Regions from separate parts of the Homo sapiens genome. Here region 1 is linked to region 2. Evidence: promoter capture Hi-C in 16 types of primary human blood cells and fetal thymus (Javierre and others, 2016). All regions are on one chromosome and are shown on one strand. The core of a region is centred on a gene start or on the middle of the fragment in contact, and the rest is flanking DNA. Distances in the headings are between cores, read along the strand shown. Region 1 has its middle 210 kb from the start of RASSF9. Region 2 holds the start of NTS (neurotensin).

What was found. The method cuts DNA at HindIII sites, captures the fragments that hold promoters and counts their contacts. A CHiCAGO score of 5 or more calls a contact.
Region 1: a contact is called between a fragment that was not itself captured here and the fragment with the promoter of NTS in region 2, in 1 of 17 cell types (megakaryocytes). The highest score is 5.5, in megakaryocytes.

The regions. Positions count from the first base shown.
Region 1 is chr12:85,623,153-85,628,656 of GRCh38, reverse strand. No RefSeq gene overlaps it. Among named protein-coding and RNA genes, the nearest start is that of RASSF9, 210 kb to the left of the region's middle. RefSeq lists an enhancer at 1,700-2,899. The HindIII fragment of the contact is 2,094 bases long and covers 2,746-4,839 here.
Region 2 is chr12:85,872,866-85,877,761 of GRCh38, reverse strand. NTS (neurotensin) reads right to left here and starts at 3,467. Exons shown (of 4, transcript NM_006183.5): 1 at 3,286-3,467; 2 at 1,061-1,122. The coding sequence starts at 3,358. The HindIII fragment of the contact is 11,906 bases long and covers 1-4,896 here.

The sequences.
Region 1 (5,504 bases), core at 2,543-5,042, 250 kb after region 2:
ACCCATAAGTGGGAGTTGAACAATGAGAACACATGGACACAGGGAGAGGAATATCACACATCAGGGCCTGTCTGAGGGTGGGGAGATAAGGGAAGGATAGCACTGGGAGAGATACCTAATGTAGATAACAGGTTGATGGGTGCAGCAAACCGCCATGGCAGGTGTATACCTATGTAACAAACCTGCACATTCTGCACATGTATCCCAGAACCTAAAGCATAATAAAAAAATTAAAAAATCTAAAATAAATATATTTATAATATTCTACCAAAAGTAACTTTCTATGCAAATAATATACACATATACATTATATGTGTAGCTGAGTGTATGTGTATATATAATTATACAGACATATATGCACAAATATTTATGTCTATACATACATATATTTTAAAATATATTTTATATATATCTATAGATAGATATATACATGGATATCTTCAACAAATATTTAAGCAGTGAATAAATGCTTGTCCTAACAAATGTTCATTTTTTTGCTCAACAAATTCATTTTTGTATGTTATATGCAAATATATATGTACACACACATATATGAGAAATCTCTGCCCTAGCAGGGCTTATGTTATAGTAGAGGAGATAGTCATTGAAAAATAAATATACTTTAATATTTCATGTAAGAAAGTAGTATTCACTATAAAAGACAAGAATAATAAAGGGGCAAGGTAAAAACAAGGATACCAGTTTTATAGCTATTTCAGATGTTAATTTGGACCAAGGAGAAAAGTTAGAATCCATATATATTTTTGGTGGTTGAGTCAGCAGGACTTCCTGGATGTGAAATATGAGAAAATGAGTGGGGTTGTGGATGATGTTAAGGTTTTGGCCCAGAACAACTATGTAAATTGATACTGTTACTACCAATTGAGATGTGGAGAGCTGTGCATGTAGCAAGTCTCAGAAGGAGGTGAATCAAGAGCATAAATTAGTTCAAAATAGATACGATCAAACATAAGCCCCTTTAGGCAAGTAAAATGATTCATAGATTTGAAACCGTAGAATGAATGTGAATAAGAGCTAACAGACTTTGTTCTAGTGGAATTGAAAATTAGTGGTGTTCTTCTTTGTTACCACAAAATAGTAATTTCATATATTATGTTAATTTACATAAATTATGATATTTGACAATCTCTACGTATTTTACTAAACAATTTCACACATGCAGTTAAGAAGTTATCCTTTTTATTGTATAAAATTCTGAGGAAAAACATTCCTCAAGAATTGACAAATAATTTTGTGCTGTTGGAAGATTCATTGTGCCTAACATTTATGCTCTTTCCAACTTCTGTTGGCTTACTAGATTTGTGTGGGCTATGAATCCTCCCCACTGGATAATAAAATGTAATTTATTTTTATTTTTATTGAGTAGAATTTATTATTTTATTCACCCAAATTGGAATTAAACTGACATTTACATGCCAATATAAAATGACTTGTGTAGGCCAGGTGTGATGGCTCACATCTGTAATCCCAGCACTTTGTGAGGCCAAGGTGGGAGGATTGCTTCAGCCCAGGATTTCAAGACCAGGCCTAGCATTATAGCAAAACTCTATCTCTACCAAAAAAAAAAATAAATAAATAAAAATTAGCCAGGCATGGTATCATGTGCCTGTAGTCCCAGCTACTCAGAAGACTGAGGTGGGAGGATTGCTTGAGCCTGGGAGGTCGAGGCTGCAGTAAGCCAAGTTCACACCATTGCCCCTCAGCCTGGGAAACAGAGTGAGACACTGTCTCAAAAAAACAAATAAATGAATAACTTGTGCAAACCAATTTCATACCTAGTATAAAGAATCTTCTTAAACTACTAAAGGGATCAAATGTTTCCCACAGACACTGCAGTACACAACTATATACAGGTGAAAAACTGTATCTCATTTTAAGCATGGCAAGGATACAAAAATAAACACCCCATGATTCCAACCCCCAACAATTAACAGTAGAGGAGATTAGGCAGTCTAGAGGAAACCCAAGGAAGACTGTACTAAGAGCTTAATTGGAAAAATAACTTTTCTTGGGGGTGAGAGGAAGTGACTAATTCTGACAAAGTGATTGCAACAGCAGAGGGTAGCCCAGATAAGGTTGGGATTAGTCATGATAATAACTTCACTTTATTAAAATTATATTTAGGATTAAATTTCTTCTAGGCATTCATTCTTGTTTGACTTTCTATATTACTTATAGAACCAATTTATTGAACTAGTTAGACTAGGTTAGGTACAGGCAGAATGCAGCTGTATTTTTTTTCACCTCTACTTTTTGAATTTTATCTGAAGATGTTTTTTCTTTTTCCTAATGAAGTTGGATAGATTCCACAGCTTTTAGAAAATTTTCAAATAGCAAAAAAACCAGGTCATTCTCTATAAAAATACACACCATTATCTAATGGAAAACTTCTCTCCTACTTCAGTTTACATCTGTCACATGCTATACTGGGGGAGAAAATGCAGGGTTGACAATATTTTTTCACTTGATATGCTTTTTATCTAATTCTCTGGCAGTTCTTACCTCATATTTTGCTCTGTATTTACATTTCTTACCTCATATTTCTGATCTCTGCAGTGTCAAGTACAGGAGAGCAGAGAAGTGGTACAGGGGCAAAAAGGCCAGATGTGACGGGTTCAGTTGTAACTTAGTATCAGGCCTTCATGTTGGATGCCGGTTTTTTTTCTTCCAGCATGCTTTGTGGTTTAATTGGTAAAAGGCAATGTTTATTATGGAGATGAAGCTTATATGAAGGGCTCGGAAGAGCTGGTAGAGTCAATTCCCAACGCTGTATTCAGTGGCTTTATCACGGTAGCTTGAAACCATACGTTGGAAATACTTATATCATGGAAATTAGAAAATGATACAAATTAGGGCTTTAAATATTTTTTGGAGGAATGGGTTAGATATCAATGTCTAATCACATTTTCTTGGGCATTTCTTATAGGAATAAGGATAAGTTATAGGTTAATGCTGAAGGGGCAGTTTTTTAACTACTCCATTATAAGTGTTTTTCACATTGTTTAGATCAATGCTGTCCAACAGAACTTTCTACAATGAAGGAAATATTCTATATTACACTGTTCAATATGAGAAACATTAGTCAAACATGACTATTGTGCACTTCAGATGTGACTAGTACAATTGGAGGACTTAATTTTTAATTTTACTTCATTTTAATGCTTTTACATTTGAACTTAAATGGATGCGTGTGACCAGTGACTACAGTATTACACGGTGCAGGTCTAGAGGACCTCTAAGTCTTCTTTAGGTGGCCTCTCAACCTTCTTTATCATGGTAGGAACTTGACACCTATTGTTTTGTCTAGCCTCTTGGGGCCTTGGCTGAAACTGAGAAAACAGAAAGTCACACTTAACTATATAGTTGGAAAGGAAAACTCAATGACATATATCAACTATGAAATTTATTAATCAGAAATTACTTTTATTCAGTTAGAATAAATTAGGTTTAAGAGTGTTGCAAATTGAAATTCATATATAAAGAATCATGTTAATATGATTCTAAGAATAAAAAGAAAATGCATTGAGTGAATTTTGTTTGGGCAGTCAACATAACGACAAAAGGTATAAGCCATGTCCTGCTCTCAAAGAACCTTAGATTCAGTATCTAAATTGAAACAGAACATAAAAGTTCTTATCTATGAAAATTCTACTCTACTATTGTAAATTTACATATTCTTTTGTGAGAGCATGGTAATTATACCTATGAAACTTGATATGCATTTCCATTTGGCAGTGGAGCATTATGAAAAGGATGAATTTGGGAGTTACGTAGGCTTTGGTTGGAATCCGTTTCTACCTACTGACTGTGTAATCACAGGCAAGTCATTAAACTCTCTGAATTTTGGTTTCCTCATCTGAAAAATGGACCCAATAAAAAGAACCTTTTAGAGTTGCGTTAAATAGATGATGCAGTGCTATATATAATGCCTGGAACATAATTAGCATTAAAGAGGTTTTAGAACACTTTATGAACTCTACACAGTTTGTTTGGTTTTTTTTTGGCTATAACTTTTCAAAAATTGTTTTTATTTTCTCACCTATTCTGTGAAATAAATATCAAAAATTTTGGCCTTTAAATACTATCAGCTTGCAGAAATCCAAGTAATTAAAATGAACAAAAAGCACAACTATAAGAAAGAATTTACATTCATCCATTTTTATAGGGTAGACTCATCCTTTATCATGAGTGAACTCTTACAGTTGTATTTTGGCTTGTTTTTTATTGCTAGCCTTTTTGTCACCCAATATCATCTTCTTAATGATATAGAAAAAGTGACTTTGTTAAAAACCGTTTTATCACTTTAAACAAGTCTACAATCTGAACTGCCCCCCATTAGTTATTATAACTAATAATCACTCTTTAGTTTTTCATCAAAATTTACTCAACTAACTTTCTCCCTTGTACCCTATAACCCTTCAAATACTTCTTGTGATTTAGCCAAGATTCTAAAGTTCAGTGATAGAAGGTCAACCCAACTCACTTAAGCTAAATTTATTGTCTCATACAAACAAATCACTGGAAAGACATCAGTAAGCTGGCATTATACAAGGTTGAATTGTGGCTTTCAAAATGCTATTGAAACTCTACTCTCATTGTTTTTTTCCTTTCTCCCACTTTGCCTCACATAGTGAAAGACATGGTGCTTAGCAGCTCTGGGCTCTTATTCTAACAGTTTCATGACTTTAGAAAAAAGGACCTTCTCTGTCACATGTCCAGTTTTATAAATATCAGGGTAAAGATCTGGTTTGTCTTCCTTGTATCATGCGCCTATCATCACTATAGCCACGGGAGAAAGATATTAGAATTGGCCAAGCTTGGGTCATTTGGAGTCAGGGTGGAAAGAAGAATGGTGTCTTTACTAGATGAAAGGAAAAGAGAAGAGAATGAAGTACCTGGTAAACTGTATTATAAACACTGTAGACACCCTATCAAATAAACTCTTTCCACCTTAATAAAGCTAGTTTTCCTAGGCTTAATAGCATGTGATCATTTAATCAACTGTAAATGTTTTTCTCTACTTTTATCAAGCAATTCAGATTCATCATTTTGAAAACCAAGCACAACACTGACTTTCAAAAAGTTTTTCTTTAATCATTCCTTTATTTGTGTTTATTCTGCACCAACTCTAACTATATTGAACTCTATTGAAGAAGGTGGAAATTGGTGTTAGTAGATCTGGATCAGAATCCCACCATGTCATTATTTACTTTTGTGATATTTGGCAAATTCCATGCATACCTTTAAATTTAATTTGAAGACAATCAGGATTACAGTTTAAAATGTAAGCAATGCTAACATTATTTTAGAAAAGCCATCATCCCCTTCGATTCCATTTCCTGATACTTTGCATGTGTCTTTTTTTCCCTCTTCTTAACTTTTTGTTAAGTTTTTCAGACCATCTCTTTATCTCTGGTCTTCTAATATGACATAATGAAGTGCCATGATTTGTGTGTGTGTGTGTGTTGTTGTTGTTGTTGTTG
Region 2 (4,896 bases), core at 2,218-4,717:
TCTATTTTTGAACTGAAGAGGTTGTAGCCATTGGTATTCTGATTGAGTACTAAACAATGAGAACACATGGGCACAGGAAGGGGAACAACCCACACCGGGGCCTGTCAGAGGGTGGAGTGGAGGAGGAAGGGCTAATGCATGCTAGGCTTAATACCTAGGTGATGGGTTGATAGGTGCAGAAAACCACCAAGGCATATGTTTGCCTATCTAACAAACCTGCACATCCTGCCCATGTACCCCAGAACGTATTCCTAGGTACAGATTGGAATTTTAAAAACTGGCTTTCAAGACCCCAATAGAGGAGTAATAGGGCCCAGGATACAAAGTTGTATTTGGCTCAATTAAAAAAAAAAAAAAAAAGAACATGTAAAAATAACATGTTTGTTATAGGGAGAATTTAAATCCAGACATACAATGAAGAGTACAGTTTAGTAATTCCTAAATACATTGTAGAACGGTAAATGTCTAGAAGATTACGAACTGCAATCCCTGCATTTAAAAACAAGGAAACACAGGTAAGCAAGGTGAACTAATCCACTTGCTAAAGATAAAATATTTAATAAGTCACTGTTTCAGGATTAGATCTCAATGCTCCTGCTTACCAGTCCATTGCTATCCCCTCTATACTACATTTCTTTTGCAGGTTGTCATGAACTTTTATTTCTAATTTAGGAACACCTTTTTATTTCCCCCAATATAATAAAAAAGGCAAAGAGCTCACTTTGTTTTCATTTAACTTGAGACCAATATACCTTTCATCATACCCAATGTAAAAGGCATGGAAGCAAGTTCCTTTAAAAACATTTACAGGCAAGTAAATATGTGTGGCAATTAATTAAAATTGCAACATGCTGATTGATAGAATTATAATTTCTTTGCCTGTCATATCAACACCTTTAACTTCTTTTAACTAAAAGAAATTTTTTTTTTCAAAAAGGAAATGCCTCTCAAGGAACTTTTCAATCTTGATGAGAAGTTATTACTATGGGAAAAGGATACCATGTTTATAATGAAAGTTCATATGTTCTTCAACTCAGGGTTAAAGAAAAGAAAAAGTTACCTTTGATGTATGCATATTGGTCAAGAAATCTGCTTCTAATGCTTTCATTTCCTCTTCTGAATCTGAGTAAAATCAAAATCAGGTTTACTATAATTACATATCATATAATTATATCATAATCTACAGATTTTAGGTTAATCTAAAAAAAAATCTTAGAGGTTAGTGTCTTTCTTATGTATTTTCTTAAAAATAGTAATCCTAAAAAACAAATTATAGTTATACTTTAGCATAATAGGAAGCTAAAATAGTAGAAGCACTTCTAAGAAAATAAGCATATGATTATTTTTCAGACAGCTATTGATCACTGGGAGTTGTTTAATCTTTGAATTTCAGGCTTTAAAAATGTGATTACATTGTATAACACATATTTTACCAAATATGCTAGAGTAGCTTATTTCTTACCAGCCACAGTTTACATATATAGAAAATATGCATATTAACATTTAAAAACACAACATAATGAAGACTATACAAGAGACTTTTTCAAGACAAAACCAAAGGGAATTGCTTACTGATAATTTTAGAATAATAAAGATACTGAGGTTTACTTAACTTGAGATGTTTTTTACAAAACACACGTTGAAAGAATTGTATTGTACTTTAAGAGAATTCAAAATTATGTATCCTCAATTTTTTCATAGGCATTTAAGGAAATTGTTTAAAGCAAAAGTGGAGCTGTTCAACAACACATGTACAACAGCATTGAAAATGGATCTCTGGATTTTTAAAAAACTCTATCCAAGTTTCTGTTAATGAATATTTTACAGAGAAGGAAAATTTGGAAAATACTATACAATAATAAAAATAAAGTTAAAAATGACTCTATCTTCCTTGTACTACACACTCAGTAAAAAGAAATGCCACAATTGGAGAACCCATTGGCTTAATTTTACCTAGAACCTAAATTATACAAGAGATCTTTTCTCACTATTTGTTAGAGACATAATCTGTTTTAGGAATTTATGAACAATGTATACCAAAATCCTTATAACTATTGCATTATTACAACAAGTAGTTTCAAGTTAATAAACACAGTGCTTAATCAATAACCCAGTTTTTCTTCCAGAAGTATGTGAATCTTTAATCTCATATAACTTTCAGATAAAATCATAATTATAGAAAAGTTTGTTTTTTCTCATAAGATTTAAAAAGTAGAAGCTGAAAGTTATGTTCTGATGATTAAAATAAATTTAAAATTTTGTATAAATCACATTTATATCTTCTTAGATTTTAATTTCATAATTTAAATCAAATGATAGCATGAGTTTGAGTTAAACATTTCCATGTCATATTTATGATACATAAAAGCACAGAACAGGTTAAATTATTTTTGCTGCATTTGCTTCCTAATGTGTTCTTTTCCCTTTGAAGTGTTCATTGTAATATTTCTTAAATATTAAGTAGAGCCTTTTGCAATGGTTGTAATATTTCATGTTATACCTTTCAATTTAAGTCTTATTTTCAAAGTGAGTTATTCGTAGATACTTAGGACTATATAACTTCTTTCAAACCACATGCAAAACACTCTAAAGTCAAATAATTTCCATCAATATAAGAATACCAATTTTCCAATTGTATTTTGTATTAACTTAAATGGCATGGAAAAAATGCCAAACAGTTATATTAATAGCACACTTATTAGACTATGCAAATTCTGTTCTCAAAAAGGATCTGGAATATTTTTGTATTTTTCTAGAAATAATTTTCTACAAATAATGCTTCATTTTTCACTAAGTATCAATTTTCACTTTATTTGTTATCTTAACACAAACAAGAAAATAATACGGGGACTATTACAAGGGCGTGAGGGCCACCGCTTCCTAAGAGAATGAATGAGGATGAGAGTAAAACATTTTGAATGGAATGGGATTTAATGATGGGTTTGCAGGTTGACAGCCACTGCCTCTGTATTTCTCATTAGATAATGATCAGCCTAATTGAAAGTTTTGTAGGGTTTTTTTCCCTCTAGTTGTTGAATTCCAAAGGAGGTCGTGCAGTGTTTCATTGAAATCCCTTTTATTGCTTTGCAGATTTTAAAAGAGAAAATACATCTCTCAGTAATCATAAAGGCAGAGAAAGAGATACTCAGTTTCTGTCACTAAAAGGTAAATCCTGAATAAAAGGGAGCAACTCTTCTCCCCAGATACATTAACATAAGTAGCAACACACTGCAAAAGAGAAAAAAGAAATCACTTCAGGGAGTTGTGAAATTCTGTTTTGCTTACCTGAGCACAGACTCCAGGAGCTGAAAGCCAGGAGTAGCATGCATACAAGCTGGATTTTCATTCCTGCCATCATCTTTCAGCCTTCTAACAAGCCAAGTCCGTAAAAGTCAGAAGCACACTGAAGGGGGCTCTCTCTAGCACTTCCTCTTTCCTTCAGCTGGCTTTGAAAGTGAGTGAACTATGAGAGGTGCTCTGGCCATTCCCCTATATATATAAGCAGGAGGATGATGTCATTGATTGTACAGACATTATCTTTGCAGGATGTGCCCTATCTTCACCTCCATCCCTCCCCTCTTTGCCCTGCTTTCTCCTCCCCTTTTCCTTTGTCCCCCCTGCTCTCCTCCCCCATTTCTGAACCTTGAGTGAAAGTGACGATCTTCCCTAATTGCTGCTGCTGCTGCTTTGGATTTCTGACGCACAGAAGGAGTCATTCAACTGCACTGACATACAGCATACATACAGCATACTGACAAAGAACCCCCAGTATCATCCTTTTCCCACTTCTCATTCCCCCACTCCAAAAGTTGTCATTTTGATTTTGTGAAACATGAGATCTGTTATTTCTAATTTTTAAGGAAAATCTCCAGGATGAATGCATGAAATCAGTGATTCCTTAGGCTTGGAAGTTCTTGAAGAGTTAGGGTGCTTCTCTGGTAATTCAAACTTCTGAGCAAATGTTTAGTGGTTCCAAAACTAATACAGGTTTTAAATAATCCATGCTGGAATAAGATGGAATAGAGACAGAGAATCAGTTATAAAAATTAAGCAATTAAGTTTAGAGAATAGAAAGAAAATCAATAAAAAGAAATAATAGATCCAGGGAATAAGATATTATTTCCTAACAAATAGAAAATATTTTATTGTAAGTAATGAGAGATGACTGAACTATGTGTGCTGACTTTTGGTTGAATGTATTAGAAAAACAATTTCATGTTTATAAAATCCAGCTCTAAATTACTTACATTCTAGCAGGTAAAAATTTGTGTTGTTGTATCACTGACTTTTTTTCTGTACATTATCTCTTTTTATGCCTATATTTTTCTGCTCTTTTTGAATTCATTCTTGATGCCATGTCTCACTCTTTGTATAATTCCCTTCTCAACAGTTTTTACTATTGCATCGGCTTTCTTTCCCTGTTATAATACTCTTTTCACCATAAAAAAAGAGATTGTACTTTTGGAAAGGAGACAATCCTAAATAACCACCATTCACCAAAGTCACTTTTCTATGATAGTCTTCATGTATTTCATGAGTTACACTGATACCCATTCTTTGTCTGAGTTCTCAAAAGAAAATTGTTCAAAATGCCTTTTAGAGTAAAACTTTCTTCTTGTAGTAAGCATTTCAAGATACATGGGGTAATTTGACAAGTCAGTGCTGTTAGAGATGTGAATATTTGAATGTAAAGTTGTCTGAGTCTTGTTTAATTTTTAAATAAATCAATCATGTAGTAACAGTTGAGAAAAAATAGGATTGGTTCCTATAGATAATTGATTTATATTATACAATCTATGAGTTTAACTTTTTCACCTTTACCCAAAACTTAAGCAAAGCGATTAAATCCAAACATTTAATAATTACTTAGAATAGCAAGGAGTCTTTCATATAATA